Regions from separate parts of the Homo sapiens genome. Here regions 1, 3 and 4 are each linked to region 2. Evidence: promoter capture Hi-C in 16 types of primary human blood cells and fetal thymus (Javierre and others, 2016). All regions are on one chromosome and are shown on one strand. Each heading gives the region's core, a stretch centred on a gene start or on the middle of the fragment in contact. The rest is flanking DNA. Distances are from core to core; before and after follow the strand shown. Region 1 has its middle 19 kb from the start of UCN3. Region 2 holds the start of AKR1C3 (aldo-keto reductase family 1 member C3). Region 3 has its middle 40 kb from the start of UCN3. Region 4 has its middle 30 kb from the start of LINC02561.

Evidence for each region. The method cuts DNA at HindIII sites, captures the fragments that hold promoters and counts their contacts. A CHiCAGO score of 5 or more calls a contact.
Region 1: a contact is called between a fragment that was not itself captured here and the fragment with the promoter of AKR1C3 in region 2, in 9 of 17 cell types (M0 macrophages, M2 macrophages, non-activated CD4 T cells and 6 more). The highest score is 10.5, in M0 macrophages.
Region 3: a contact is called between a fragment that was not itself captured here and the fragment with the promoter of AKR1C3 in region 2, in 5 of 17 cell types (M1 macrophages, monocytes, M0 macrophages and 2 more). The highest score is 8.5, in M1 macrophages.
Region 4: a fragment that was not itself captured here is called in contact with the fragment with the promoter of AKR1C3 in region 2 in 7 of 17 cell types (M0 macrophages, monocytes, M1 macrophages and 4 more); the score reaches 11.0 in M0 macrophages.

The regions. Positions count from the first base shown.
Region 1 is chr10:5,344,005-5,347,096 of GRCh38, reverse strand. No RefSeq gene overlaps it. Among named protein-coding and RNA genes, the nearest start is that of UCN3, 19 kb to the left of the region's middle. The HindIII fragment of the contact is 7,410 bases long and covers 1-3,092 here.
Region 2 is chr10:5,092,622-5,095,692 of GRCh38, reverse strand. AKR1C3 (aldo-keto reductase family 1 member C3) reads right to left here and starts at 1,279. Exons shown (of 9, transcript NM_003739.6): 1 at 1,165-1,279. The coding sequence starts at 1,248. LOC124900291 (U8 small nucleolar RNA) reads left to right here and starts at 2,150; the gene lies at 2,150-2,285. RefSeq lists an enhancer at 1,142-1,436. The HindIII fragment of the contact is 2,243 bases long and covers 131-2,373 here.
Region 3 is chr10:5,323,420-5,326,507 of GRCh38, reverse strand. No RefSeq gene overlaps it. Among named protein-coding and RNA genes, the nearest start is that of UCN3, 40 kb to the left of the region's middle. The HindIII fragment of the contact is 4,550 bases long and covers 1-3,088 here.
Region 4 is chr10:5,299,238-5,302,643 of GRCh38, reverse strand. No RefSeq gene overlaps it. Among named protein-coding and RNA genes, the nearest start is that of LINC02561, 30 kb to the right of the region's middle. The HindIII fragment of the contact is 6,366 bases long and covers 1-3,406 here.

The sequences.
Region 1 (3,092 bases), core at 563-3,062, 250 kb before region 2:
CCAGGCCTCTGGTTTCTGGCTGGTTGATGAGTGTCATTGCATGCTCACCGGTTCAGGAGCCACTTGACTACTTTTTGGACTTGGTTTGTGTCCATGGATCTGGAGTCCCAGACTAAAAACCGTTTTCTTTGTCACCAGTCACGGGGATAGTTCTTTGCTGAGTGCTAAAGCAGGCCTCTGATTCCTTTACCTCTCTTCCTGCTGAGGCATTCCTGACGGAAGCTCTGTGCTCACCTGGCTCTGTGGTCCTCAGTCATGTCTCCCCTGCCCTAACCTTTCCTAGCACTCCTCCACAGAGTGTGGTCGGGGGAGCATTAGATGCAAATGAGGATTCCTCAGTCTCTGAAATAGACTTTTTGCAGAAATGTTTGCAAGAGGGGAGCAGGTGGGAGAAGAGCCTAAATGTCAGTAATAAATATGTTGTAGTTTTCAACAAAGGACGGGGTTCAGAGATACCCGGTGTGGTCATTTGCCATTTCAAAATTACAGGGCTGGTTAATTGTCCCACTCGGAAGAAGAATATGATGGATTTTCTAAAAGTGCATTTTACATTACAAAAGAAGCCTGAGTTCCTGGTAAGGTCATTTATTTGCATAAATATTGATTGAGTGGCTGTAGGTGTGAGAGGCAGCCCTGACTTCTGGGGATTGAGACAGGCTTCACAGTCAAGATGCTTGCTCCCAGAATAGCATCTCTCAGAATAATCTAGAAATTTATTTCCTGTTGAAATGGATAATTTCCATTCATTTTTTTAATCCTCACATGTCAGGTTATGTGTCTAAGAACTGTTGGATCAAGGTATCTATACTTTGATACTTTATAAAAATATTGTAATATTTAATAAAGATTGCCAATTTTCCCTCTTCAGTGGTTGTGCCAATTTACAGTCCAGGCAGCATTAACAAGACTGAGATTTAAGGTCCATTGAACCTGATCTTTGGGAAGACAGCTGGTGTGGCAGTGAGGGGACTGCCTGCAGCTATGGAGGGGAGCCCATCTGCTAGGAAGATGTCCAGGAGGGGACTCTATCCAGTGTTGGGGCCAGGGAGAGGTTCTTGGACACCTAGGCTGATATTTAATTTGGGAATTGGAGGAGGACTGATCCATTTCCAGCGGGAAAGAAGTTCATCATTTACTTGGAGCAATGCTGCTGTCTTCTTGTCTCAAATTCCTTTCTCTTAATATTTGTTATCTGTTTTTACTGATGCCTAATAATTGGGGTACATGCAATATGTACCAGTAAGTAGCAATGGGGTTTCGATACATGCATACACTGTGCAATGATCAAATCATAGTATTTAGGATATCCATCACCTCAAGCATGTATCATTTCTTTGTGTTGGGAACGTGTAGAATCTTTTCTTCTGGCTACTTGGAAATATACTGTAAGTTGTGGTTAACTGTAGTCATCCTACTGTGTTATAGAACACTAGACTTTATTCCTTCTATTTAACTGTATTTCTTTTTTTGTTTTAATTTTATTATTATACTTTAAGTTTTAGGGTACACGTGCACAATGTGCAGGTTTGTTACATATGTATACATGTGCCATGTTGGTGTGCTGCACCCATTAACTCATCGCTTAGCATTAGGTATATCTCCTAATGCTATCCCTCCCCCATCCCCGCACCCCACAACAGTCCCCAGAGTGTGATGTTCCCCTTCCTGTGTCCATGTGTTCTCATTGTTCAATTCCCACCTATGAGTGAGAACATGCGGTGTTTGGTTTTTTGTCCTTGTGATAGTTTGCTGAGAATGATGGTTTCCAGTTTCATCCATGTCCCTACAAAGGACATCAACTCTTCATTTTTTATGGCTGCATAGTATTCCATGGTGTATATGTGCCACATTTTCTTAATCCAGTCTATTGTTGTTGGACATTTGGCTTGGTTCCAAGTCTTTGCTATTGTGAATAGTGCCGCAATAAACATACGTGTGCATGTGTCTTCATAGCAGCATGATTTATAATCCTTTGGGTATATACCCAGTAATGGGATGGCTGGGTCAAATGGTATTTCTAGTTCTAGATCCATTTAACTGTATTTCTGTGCCCATTAACCAATCTCTGTTTAATCCCCACCCCTGTATTTCTGTACCCATTAACCAATCTCTCTTTAATCCCCACCTCTTCATAGCCTCTGGTAACCATTAACTACTCTCCTCTCTATACAAGTGCTTCTATATTTAATTCTTCCTTCCAGAGAAGAAGGCAGGGAAAAGTATTGTGAAAGTTTGGTAAACTTAAAGATGTGTTACTTGTTGTATCATTAACAGAGCTAATATGCAATCTAAAATTATTTACTTGAATAAGTAACTCATCTGTATGTTTAAAAATATGAGAAGTATACAAAGGCACACTGTGAAAAATCTACCTTCCACCCTTGTCCCCTGGCCATCTAATTCTCTCTTGGGAGGAAACCAAACTTACACATTTCTTGTATTTCCTTCTGGGGACACTAAAAAATAACATATATATAATATGTATATATACATGTATATTCTTTTGCCTCCCCTTTTACCACAATGATAAAAAACACTTCCTGAATCTTTCATACTCCAACTTAAGATGTCTCATAATTAATTAAAGCAGTCCCATGTTGATGGTCATTTGAGATGTTTCCAATCCTTTGCAATTACAAGTAAACTTCTGCATATGTATATCTGTAGGATAAGTTCCTAGGAGAGGAATGGCTGGATCAAAGCATCTGTACTTTTTATAATTTTGAAAACTATTGCCAAATCTCCCCCATGGATTATGCCAATCTATACTCTTCAATGGGAATATATGAGAATGCAACCTAAGGCCCAAAGAGTAGAATTTTGGGGATAAAGACAGGAGGAAATAATTATGCAGTAGCAGCAGCAGCTGCTTGGCCTCCTGGTAAGCGTGACACAGCACTGGACAACAATTCCCATGTGGCTGGGCCTGAGGGGTACGTGCCAGCACCAGCCCAGTGTGGATGTTATGGCCAGCACAGAATCTTCACGAGAGCCAACCCTGCAGTTATGTGATCATGACACTCAGAGAACAAAGGACAAATACGGTGCAAACTTTATAATAAAGTTATATTTCTATATCATTATAATCAAAG
Region 2 (3,071 bases), core at 30-2,529:
AAGACAGAATTCCAGTGAAATTTAAAATTACTGACTTATTGACCAAATTTGGATAAAGATTTGAAAGGTATTTTTTAATGACAAAAATATAAATAAACTGTTTTCATTTTTACATGTATTTAAAGAAGCTTTCTTGTTTCGTTGAAATTACAAGGAACTAGATAACGGTCTCCCCGCCATCTCCTGAGAACAGTCTTTTTTTTTTTTTTTAAATCTTTTTTGAGAGCAGTCTTTAAGTGTGCCAACACTCAAAGGTTTACCAAGGCTGGAGCTTCAGTTGTGTCGTTATTTTCATTTCCTGCCCATGCCAATTTATATTAAAAATTAAACCACTTTTGTCACTGGTCTAGAAAATGTATCCTTGTAGATCATCACAACTTATCGATAAAGTGAGAGACTCAAATTTCAATAATTAGTTCCTATTCACACACTTAGTAGCCTGAGGACAGTCTTGGAATACAAGTTCTATCTAGAAAATGAGGTCTCCATTTTGTTCATTTTTGTGTCAGAAGACCACTCCTACCACTTTGATACAAATATGATGCATACAAAAAAGGACTAAGAATTTAGACTTTCCTTTGTTAGGTTCTAGATTTTACTTAAAATGAGGTGGTATTTTTTTCTTTCAGGAAGTTCTTTTTAAAAGTGAAATAGTACAGTGGAAACTCTAGTCCAGGTCCGGTAATACTGGGTGGCACTCACTGCCGCCCATCAGAACAGTGATACTCTGCCGACAGTTTTGTGCACACCATATCCAGTAATTTTTGCTATAAGTATTTCTCTGGATCGTATGTTCTTGGAAGATGGAAAGATTTCTTCAGTTGTAGAAACAGAGAAATCACTCCTATTGCAATTAATCTCCACCAGAGGGAGATGACCAACAGTGTTCTTCAATACTGAGTTTTACATATTCTGCCAAGCTGGGAACTAGACATGAACAGAAGAAAGAAACAGTGCACAAACGAAAAATAAGCAGTACGTGACCATAGGAATGGACCTCAATGCAGAACAAGGATTGCCTACTTTTTTCTCCTAGCCTAGGAAACCTAGACCAGTGAGTCATCCAGAGTAAGGTAGGAACACGAACCTTACAACCCAATACGGGTTTCACTTCTACTAGGTTTATTCTTTTGAAATCCGAAAACTAAAAGGAATTATTCTTACCTCTGGAGGTGCATAGGTGCCAAATCCCAATACAGGCATGAAGTGGCCATCATTTAGCTTTACACACTGGTGTTTGGAATCCATTCCCTGTCACTTGTCTGACTAGCAAATGTTTGCTGCTGCTTCTCCTCAGAGATTACAAAAACAATGGGCAGGAAACCCCTCCCCCCACCCCTGCAAACTGACTGATGGTTAACCAATGGCATGTAGGAGGAGGTACATAGGCAGTCTTATATGGTCTGTGGAGAAAATTGCATTCAGTTCATTTGTTTCTTATCAAAGAGAATTCCTAAGTAAATTATTATAATATATGGTTATAATAAACTCATTAATTTCTATCTAAAGTATTATTTTCTATTCTAAATCTCTATATTAAATTATTCAAAAGGATTTGTAGAACAAATAGCAACCATATGTTAGACTATAAAAACCTCCAGCTACAAATATCTTTTTTCGTTTCTGCCGTGATAATGCCCCTTCTTTATACTGCATCATTTGAAATAATTAACCATCTTACGTCTTTCTCTCACATACACATAATTTAAAGGAATGACTAATGAGAATTTTTCAAATAGTTGGTCCTCAATAAAAAATTAAAGTTAAAACTGTAAAAATATTTGCCTTTTTACATTTTCAATCAGAAAATTTATTTTGATTTTTCTTTCTTTGCGTTGTAAGAGAAATATTCATTTCTGAAGAAGATGCAGTCCTGATAAAGCTGTAATCCTGATGAGGGTGCAAATAAAAAGAAATTCTGGTGTAGTTTTTATTGGAGTGTTAATTATTAACAGTTTTTGGAGTTTGGACATCATTTAATATATGCAAGCAGTGCCTTAATAGTATTTGTTCTTCAACCAGGTTTATTACAGACTATCAAGAAGTAACTAGCCAAAAAACTGATAACCATTTTATATAATCTGTCATCTTGTTAAACATTATTTGTAAGGAAAAACTGGAAATTAATTACATATAAATGGATGAATAATTCTCATGTGGGATAGTTTTCACTTGTTCCTTCCTTTGGAGGGCAGATTAGAACATGATGAATGTAGTTTGCACAATACATTATCAACATCTTGGAGTTGTCAGAACTTGCAATGCCCTGATTTCGTTCTATTTACTTTTCCTCAAATAATAACCAAAAAGTAAGTTGAGAAATAAGTTAATTATTATACATTGATACAATATAATATAAAATCATTGAAAGCTTTTACAGAGTGATTTCAGCAATATGGTGGATCAAAAGGCCCCTACTTGTCTCATGGACGCGTCAAGAAGTGATCTGAAATTGACTAAAATAAACTTATTTATTTATGGGGGTGCTGAGTAGAAATGTAGTATGATGCCAAGGGCAAGAGATTAGGGGAAGAGACGTGCAATAGTCCGTCTAACCCATTGAGGGGAAGCTGGGGTGTGAATTTTTGAAATAGTAAGCTATTCAAAAGCCAGTAGGTATTTGGGGGAACTACTAATGGGCACACACAGTCCAGGCAGATACAAGTTCAGAAAATTGCTGACAAGGCCTTAGGGTTTTATGTTGGGCTTATGCTAAGACTAAGAACATACCAAGCATATTAGTTGATAATCGTCATGACACAGAACAAATCTATATAGAGTTAGAAAAATGTCTATATTTTGAAATGCTCAAATAAAATAATAAGGTATATAAAGAAACAGGAAAACACAGTCCCTTATAAGAAAGAAAACGAGTTGACAGAAATTATTTTTGAAGAACCATGAGCACTGAAATTAGTAGAGAAAGGTTTTAAAACAATTATCTTAAATATGCTAAAATTTCCAATTAAAAATATGGAAATAGAACTACAGGAAATTGGGAAAAGCATATACGGAAAAATGAGTGTATCAACAATGATGTAGAAATTATACAAAATAAACCAAACAAATTT
Region 3 (3,088 bases), core at 291-2,790, 230 kb before region 2:
TTGCTGTTGCAAGAAAATGTTCCAAAGAGCTAAGAGAGACGTGTAGAGGACATCTAAGCTGCCTGGTAAACAGTCAGTGGCAGATTTCTAACTGAACCCAGCAGCGGCCAGAAGAGCCATTTGCCTAAGTCACTGACCCCCAGAATTGTGACAGAAGTTGCCCCACGGTGCGATCGAGCATTGTTCCTGGAGGCCTAGAGTAGAGGCTAGCTCTGTGGACCATCATGATTCTCCTACTTACCATCCTTAAGTAAATTCCTTTTCAGTTTAAACTCTTGTGTTAGTCCATTTTGCATTGCTACAAGGGAATACCTGAGGCTGGGTAATTTATAAAGAAAAGAGGTTTATTTGGCTCCTGGTTCTGCAGGCTCAGGAAGCATTTCCTCACGGCAGGAGGCGGAGGGGGAGCAGGTGTGTCACATGGCGAGAGAGGGAGCAAAGGAGAGGGGAGGAGGAGGTGCCAGAGTCTTTTAAACAACCAGCTCACAGGAACTAACAGAGTGAGAACTCACTCATTACCTCGGGGAGGGCACCAGGCCACTCATGAGGGATCCAACCCCATGACCCAAACATCTCCCACTAGGCCCCACCTTCAACACTGGAGATCCCATTCCAACATGACACTTGAATGGTACAAGTATCCAAACCAAATCCGCTATCCAGAGTTTGCAACCAAGAACCTTGACCAACATCTTGGTAAAAGACACAGCAAAAGAAAACAGATGAAACCCACAGAGTCCTGCATCTCATCCTTCATGCCAACCCCCAGAGTAGCCTGGGTGGTGCAGTGGCCTCAGTGAAGGTCACTGAGCTCATAAGGAATCCTATCCTAGCTGTGGAGTTTGGCCAAAATACGGATGGAAGTGGGCTAGAAGGAGGTGGAGACTGAGATTTTAGAGAAAGATGACTAAGGACCCCACGGCTGTCTGAGTGAGCACTAATTCAGGGTCACATGGGCTGTCCTCAGTTGAGATAGAAGAAACTGAGAGACAGGAAATACTGAGATTCGGTAGTGAACCTGGACAGAAAGAGGAGGGAGACAGGTAGCCAAAGGCTGAGGCCAAAGGAAGCCAGGGATGTGCTGGAGTGGAGGCTGGGGAACAGCTTCAGGCTGGTGGCTCTGGGAGGCCTGGAAACTGAAATCATCGCCTCTGCTCTATAATGTCTCTGGGGGAGGCAGGAATTGATTTCCCTGTGGGGCTGTGGTTTCGAGTGCAGGCAGGAAGAAAGGCAGCTCTGGACACCGTCTTGTTCTCCCTTCTGGGATGACCACACGAACTTACGCAGTCTTTGCTCTGCCTCACTGGTTTCTGCTTCCCCTGTCCTTGGCCCCCACCTTCTCTGCTGTCACAATGTGGACAGGAGACAAGGTCTTCAATTCTATTAAGCGCAGCACAATGATTTATCTGTGTTCTCTGCATTTGAAATCAAATCAGAGTCAAATCTGATCACTGAGGAACAGAGAAACTCATTTAAGCCAAGGGCTTTGCTGGTCATCTCCATCAAAGGGGGAAGGAAAGGGCTCTGGTTCAGTTAGCCTGGGGAGGGGATGAGGTCGTGTGAGGTGGATTTATAATTGAGCCTACAGTAAAACTCGGAGGGGGCTGGGACAGCTTCCCCTTCCCACCCACATGCAGGCTGGCAAACAGCACTCCTGTGTTAGGTCCCTGGAGCACCTGTGCCTCTGTCTTGTGTCCCCTGTCTTGAGTCTTGGGAGGAGGCAGTGCCCGTTCCTCAGCGAAGAGCACAGTTCAAACCCTTCCTCCCACTGCACTGTCGCGGAGTCTGCAATCACAGTGGCAGAGGCTTTCTGCTTTGAGGCTTGTCAGCCTTCAGGAAACTCAGATTTAGCTCCAAATGCCATGGAAAGAGGAATTTCTTCAACCATTAGAGGCAGGGGGCTTGGTCAAGCCAGAAGGCAATGGAACAAAGCACAGGTTGGGAGAGGAAGGGAGAGGCGTGGATCAGGGGCTAAGAATCAACCAAACACCAATCAGGCCAGTTTCCAGTCTTGTCCAGGGCTGGCTTTGATTCCAAGCGCTGTTAGAATTACAGTTTTCTTTCTTTCTTTCTTTCTTTTTCTTTCTTTCTTTCTTTCTTTCTTTCTTTCTTTCTTTCTTTCTTTCTTTCTTTCTTTCTTTCTCTTTCTTTCTTTCTTCCTTCCTTCCTTCCTCCCTCCCTCCCTCCCTCCCTCTCTCTTTCTCTCTCTCTCTCTTTCTTTCTTCCTTTCTTTCTTTCTTTCTTTCTTTCTTTCTTTCTTTCTTTCTTTCTTTCTTTCTTTCTTTCTTCTTTCTTTCTTTCTTTTTTGAGATGGAGTCTTGCTCTGTCACCCAGGCTGGAGTGCAGTGGTAGATCTCCGCTTACTGCAACCTCTGCCTCCCTGGTTCGAGCAATTCTCCTGCCTCAGCCTCCCCAGTAGTTGGGATTACAGGCGCCCGCCACTGTGCCGCCAAATTTTTGTATTTTTAGTAGAGACAGGTTTTCACCATGTTGGCCAAGCTGGTCTCGAACTCCTGACCTTAAGTGATCTGCTTGCCTCATCCTCCCAAAAGAATTATGGTTTTCTAAAGCTGGTGTATGGGAAATGAGTAAAGTAAACCACTCTGCTGGAGCCTCCTGTCTATGCAGGTTCACACTCTAAGACTTAGAAATTTTGTGGGAAGACATTCCCATCTTTTCTTTGCTAATAGTGGATCTCTTTTTTAAATGATTTTTTTCAACTCTGAAAATATAAACTCCATGCAATAGGTAAAGGTGCATGTCTTAACACTGTGTCCCTGACACAGAGTAGACACTCAGTAAGAATGTAAGCCACACAGATGAACTGTTGTGTTTTCCAACCCGTAATACCTCAAAGGAAAACAAGTTCCAAAGACCAACGACGTCACGGTGTGCAAAGTAACACTTCTTTTGTCTTGTTCTTAAAGAAGAAACCAGTATTTCAAGTTCAGAAGAATAAGTGATTGCATTGTCAGTGGTTTTCAGTATCTTTCTTCTTTTTTATTTTTAAAGCAGTGAAATTGTTTTATTAAATCTAATTTTACCTGGAACTTCTTGTTCATCATGGGGCAGGCCTCCCCTTTCTTTC
Region 4 (3,406 bases), core at 170-2,669, 210 kb before region 2:
TGATTAATATGTGACATGTTTATTATAGAGACAGTTTGGCTTTTAAACTCACAGATAATATTGCTCTGTCTCTGAAGGGACAGCAGACATTTCCAGACCAACTCCTGAAAATGACTAATGGGAGCAAGAGTACCCAAAAGACTACAAACCCTTTCACCAAATCAGGGGTCAGTAAACTGTCATACGTGATTTGGCAAGAAAACTGAAGGATCTATGAGACGTTTGAACCGACACATTTTAGAGAATTTCCTTTAAATGATGAGGGTATTGAAGGAAATGAGGGTAAATTCTATTAGAATGTAGCCAATATCTGGAATTGGCCAGGAAGTAAAGATATCCCAATTTTGTTTGGATGGTAGAGATGGCTTATAGAAAGTGGTCATTGCTAGGTTACTAAATTTGTTATATTCCAGAAAAATCAAAGGAGAAAGAAAGACATCAAATACCACACAAATATAAAATGACAGCTGCCCATGAGCTTTTGAAACACTAAAGACAAATTTAGTTGAGTTTCTGGATTTCAGTTTTGAAGTTTCTGTTGGCCCAACATGTTCTCAAAAGGATGTAGCCTTTACTGGATCTGATTAGGCATTATATGCATAAGATGTAACATCTTGGATTTCTACTGGAATTATTACCACCTGAAGAATTTCAAAGTCCTAGCTATAAGAACAATCTGAATTATGGATTAAATTTTTTCTTTGGCATATATTCAGGGTCTTCTGTATAGAGATGAATTTGTGGTCATAATTGTGACAATATTATAAAATAATATTGATTTCTGCAAGGTCAAGTGCAGCAGACATCAAGGCTTACTAGCTGTCTTGCTCTAAAACTTTCTATAAGAAAAGCAATCTCATGTAGAGACAACACCAGGGATTTTAAAAGAAAAGAGCTATGATTTGGATTCTAGAAAGCATGCTTTCAATGAATGAGTTCATGTTTTTGAGAGTGCTTTGTACACTTTAAAATGTTCTATAAATGTGCATTCAACTTAAGTGAAATTGTCTATGATACTCAGAACCCATTACAATTCAGGTGAATGGATTTGGTAGCACCAGAAAGAGTGTAATTGAACTTTATAGGTTTATTTGGTAAGAAAGCGTCCTGTTCTCAGTGACTCAGGTGTAGGTACACAATGCTCTGAACCAATAGGGTTTGTTAGGACACTTTCCAGTGATGAGCAGGATTTCTCTGAGGAGTACACCGCTGTTACTCAGAGCAATTGACAAGGTAAGTAGGAGTTATGGCTTTGATATTTGCCATATTTGCTTCCCTCACTGCCTGTTTTCGTGCAGTTGCCCTGGATGTGGGATGGATGCAAAGAAGATTGTATTTAACTTACTGGCAATAGGATGAGGAGGTGGGCATCTATCAAGATAATGGTGAAGAGAAAACATTACCAAAATGCAGGGAGAAGACACACACAGACTGACAGGAGCAAAGGATGAAGGAGACTTTGACCCACTGGCACAGCAATAGAATGAGGAATAAAATAAAATATCTTCCGGGGTGATCAAAAGCTAGCGTATTTTATAGATCATGATAGGTTAACATCGTCAGATTTTCTGTAATCTACAAAACCTTATGATTGTTTCAGATAATTTACAATCCTGCATACTGCTATGCCTGTCAGGACTTGTTAAATTCCCACAAAATGCAAAAGTTAATGACTCTGTGAACCCTGAAGAGATACAGCTATTATTCATGGCCAGGCATAGTGGCTCATGCCTCTAATCCCAGCATTTTGGGAGGCTGAGGCAGAAGGATCACTTGAGCTCAGGAGTTTTAGGCCAGCCTGGGCAACATCGTGAGACCTCATCTCTACTAAAAATTAAAAAAAAATCAGCCAGGCATGGTGGTGCGTGACTGTATTCCTAGCTACTCAGGAGGCTGAGGTGGGAGGATTGCTTGAGCCCAGGAGATTGGGGCTGCAGTGAGCTATAATCATGCCACTGTACTCCAGCCTGGGCAACAGATTGAGACCCTGTCTCAAAAAAACTCCAACAGCAACAGGCCGGGTGCAGTGGCTCACGCCTGTAATCCCAGCACTTTGGGAGGCCGAGGCGGGCAGATCACGAGGTCAGGAGATCGAGACCATCCTGGCTAACATGGTGAAACCCCGTCTCTACTAAAAATACAAAAAATTAGCCAGGCGTGGTGGCGGGTGCCTGTAGTTCCAGCTACTCGGGAGGCTGAGGCAGGAGAATGGCGTCAACCCGGGAGGCGGAGCTTGCAGTCAGCCGAGATTGTACCACTGCACTCCAGCCTGGGCAACAGAGTGAGACTCCCTCTCAAAAAAAAACAAAACAAAACAAAACACAAAAACAAAAACATAAAAAACAACCCCAACAGTAACAAGAAAACAACTGTTAGTCAGGTGGAGTGTTACCCCAAACTTAAACACTTTCCAAGCTATTCTTGCCTTGATCACTCATGTTAGCAGAGAAGGGGGACCCTGTTAAAAACATTAAATGGCCAGAACAATAGAGGGAGAGTCTATTTGGACTCCCTGGGGAAATTGTTTTCCAAAAACAGCCCAAGAACAGCCCAAGAGAGCCGGTTTGTTATAGTTCTAACTGAGGAAGAGAGAAATTATCTATCTCGAGAACTTGAGTGAGAGGCTTGCTTTCTTCTCAGGGAGATTCTGGTGAAGATACGAAAGAAAGTTCTGTAAATAAACATGAGATTGTGACACAGATGTTTAAGAATTCTCTAACAATAATCGAAAATCTGGCCTGTCACACAGTGCATGTTCATGGTGAACCTAAATCATTTGTAGACAACCTACTTCTGGGTCAGGGCTTTATACAGGGCAGAGCAGCTCCCTCGCTGTGATCTATTGAAAGTCAGCTCTTGATTTGTAAAAAGTATAAATAAAACAGAAAAAGAAAATTAAAAAAAATTCTGAAGGAAATAACAACAAAAGCTAGTTTCTAAACACTCTTTGGCAAGGAGAGCTGAAATACTTACAGATAAGTAATAAACCCATTGTTTTGCTTTAATCTCTTTGAAGGAACAAACTGTTGGCTTGTCAAGGGTGCAGCGAAGGGACTGATCGCCATCTGATTGATGAGTTTGTGAAGGAGTTCCCATAACTGAGCAGACATGTTTTGTGCCTGGGCAGTGGTGCTGCCTGTGGTCTCTGAGCAGTGGTCTGTGAACGCTGCAGAACTGTAGGGAACAGAAGAGGGTAGGCATTCGCAGGCAGGTGGATGCCACTCTAGGGTGTGTGTTAGTCAGGGTTCTCCAGAGAAACAGAACTAACAGGAGATCTAGCTACAGGTGTAGAAAGAGAGTTATCATGAGAGATTGGCTCACAGGATTAGGGGTGCTGAGAAGTCCCATGAACTGCCATCTGTGAGCAGGAGATGCAGGAAAGCTGGTGGTGCAATGCAGTCCAAAC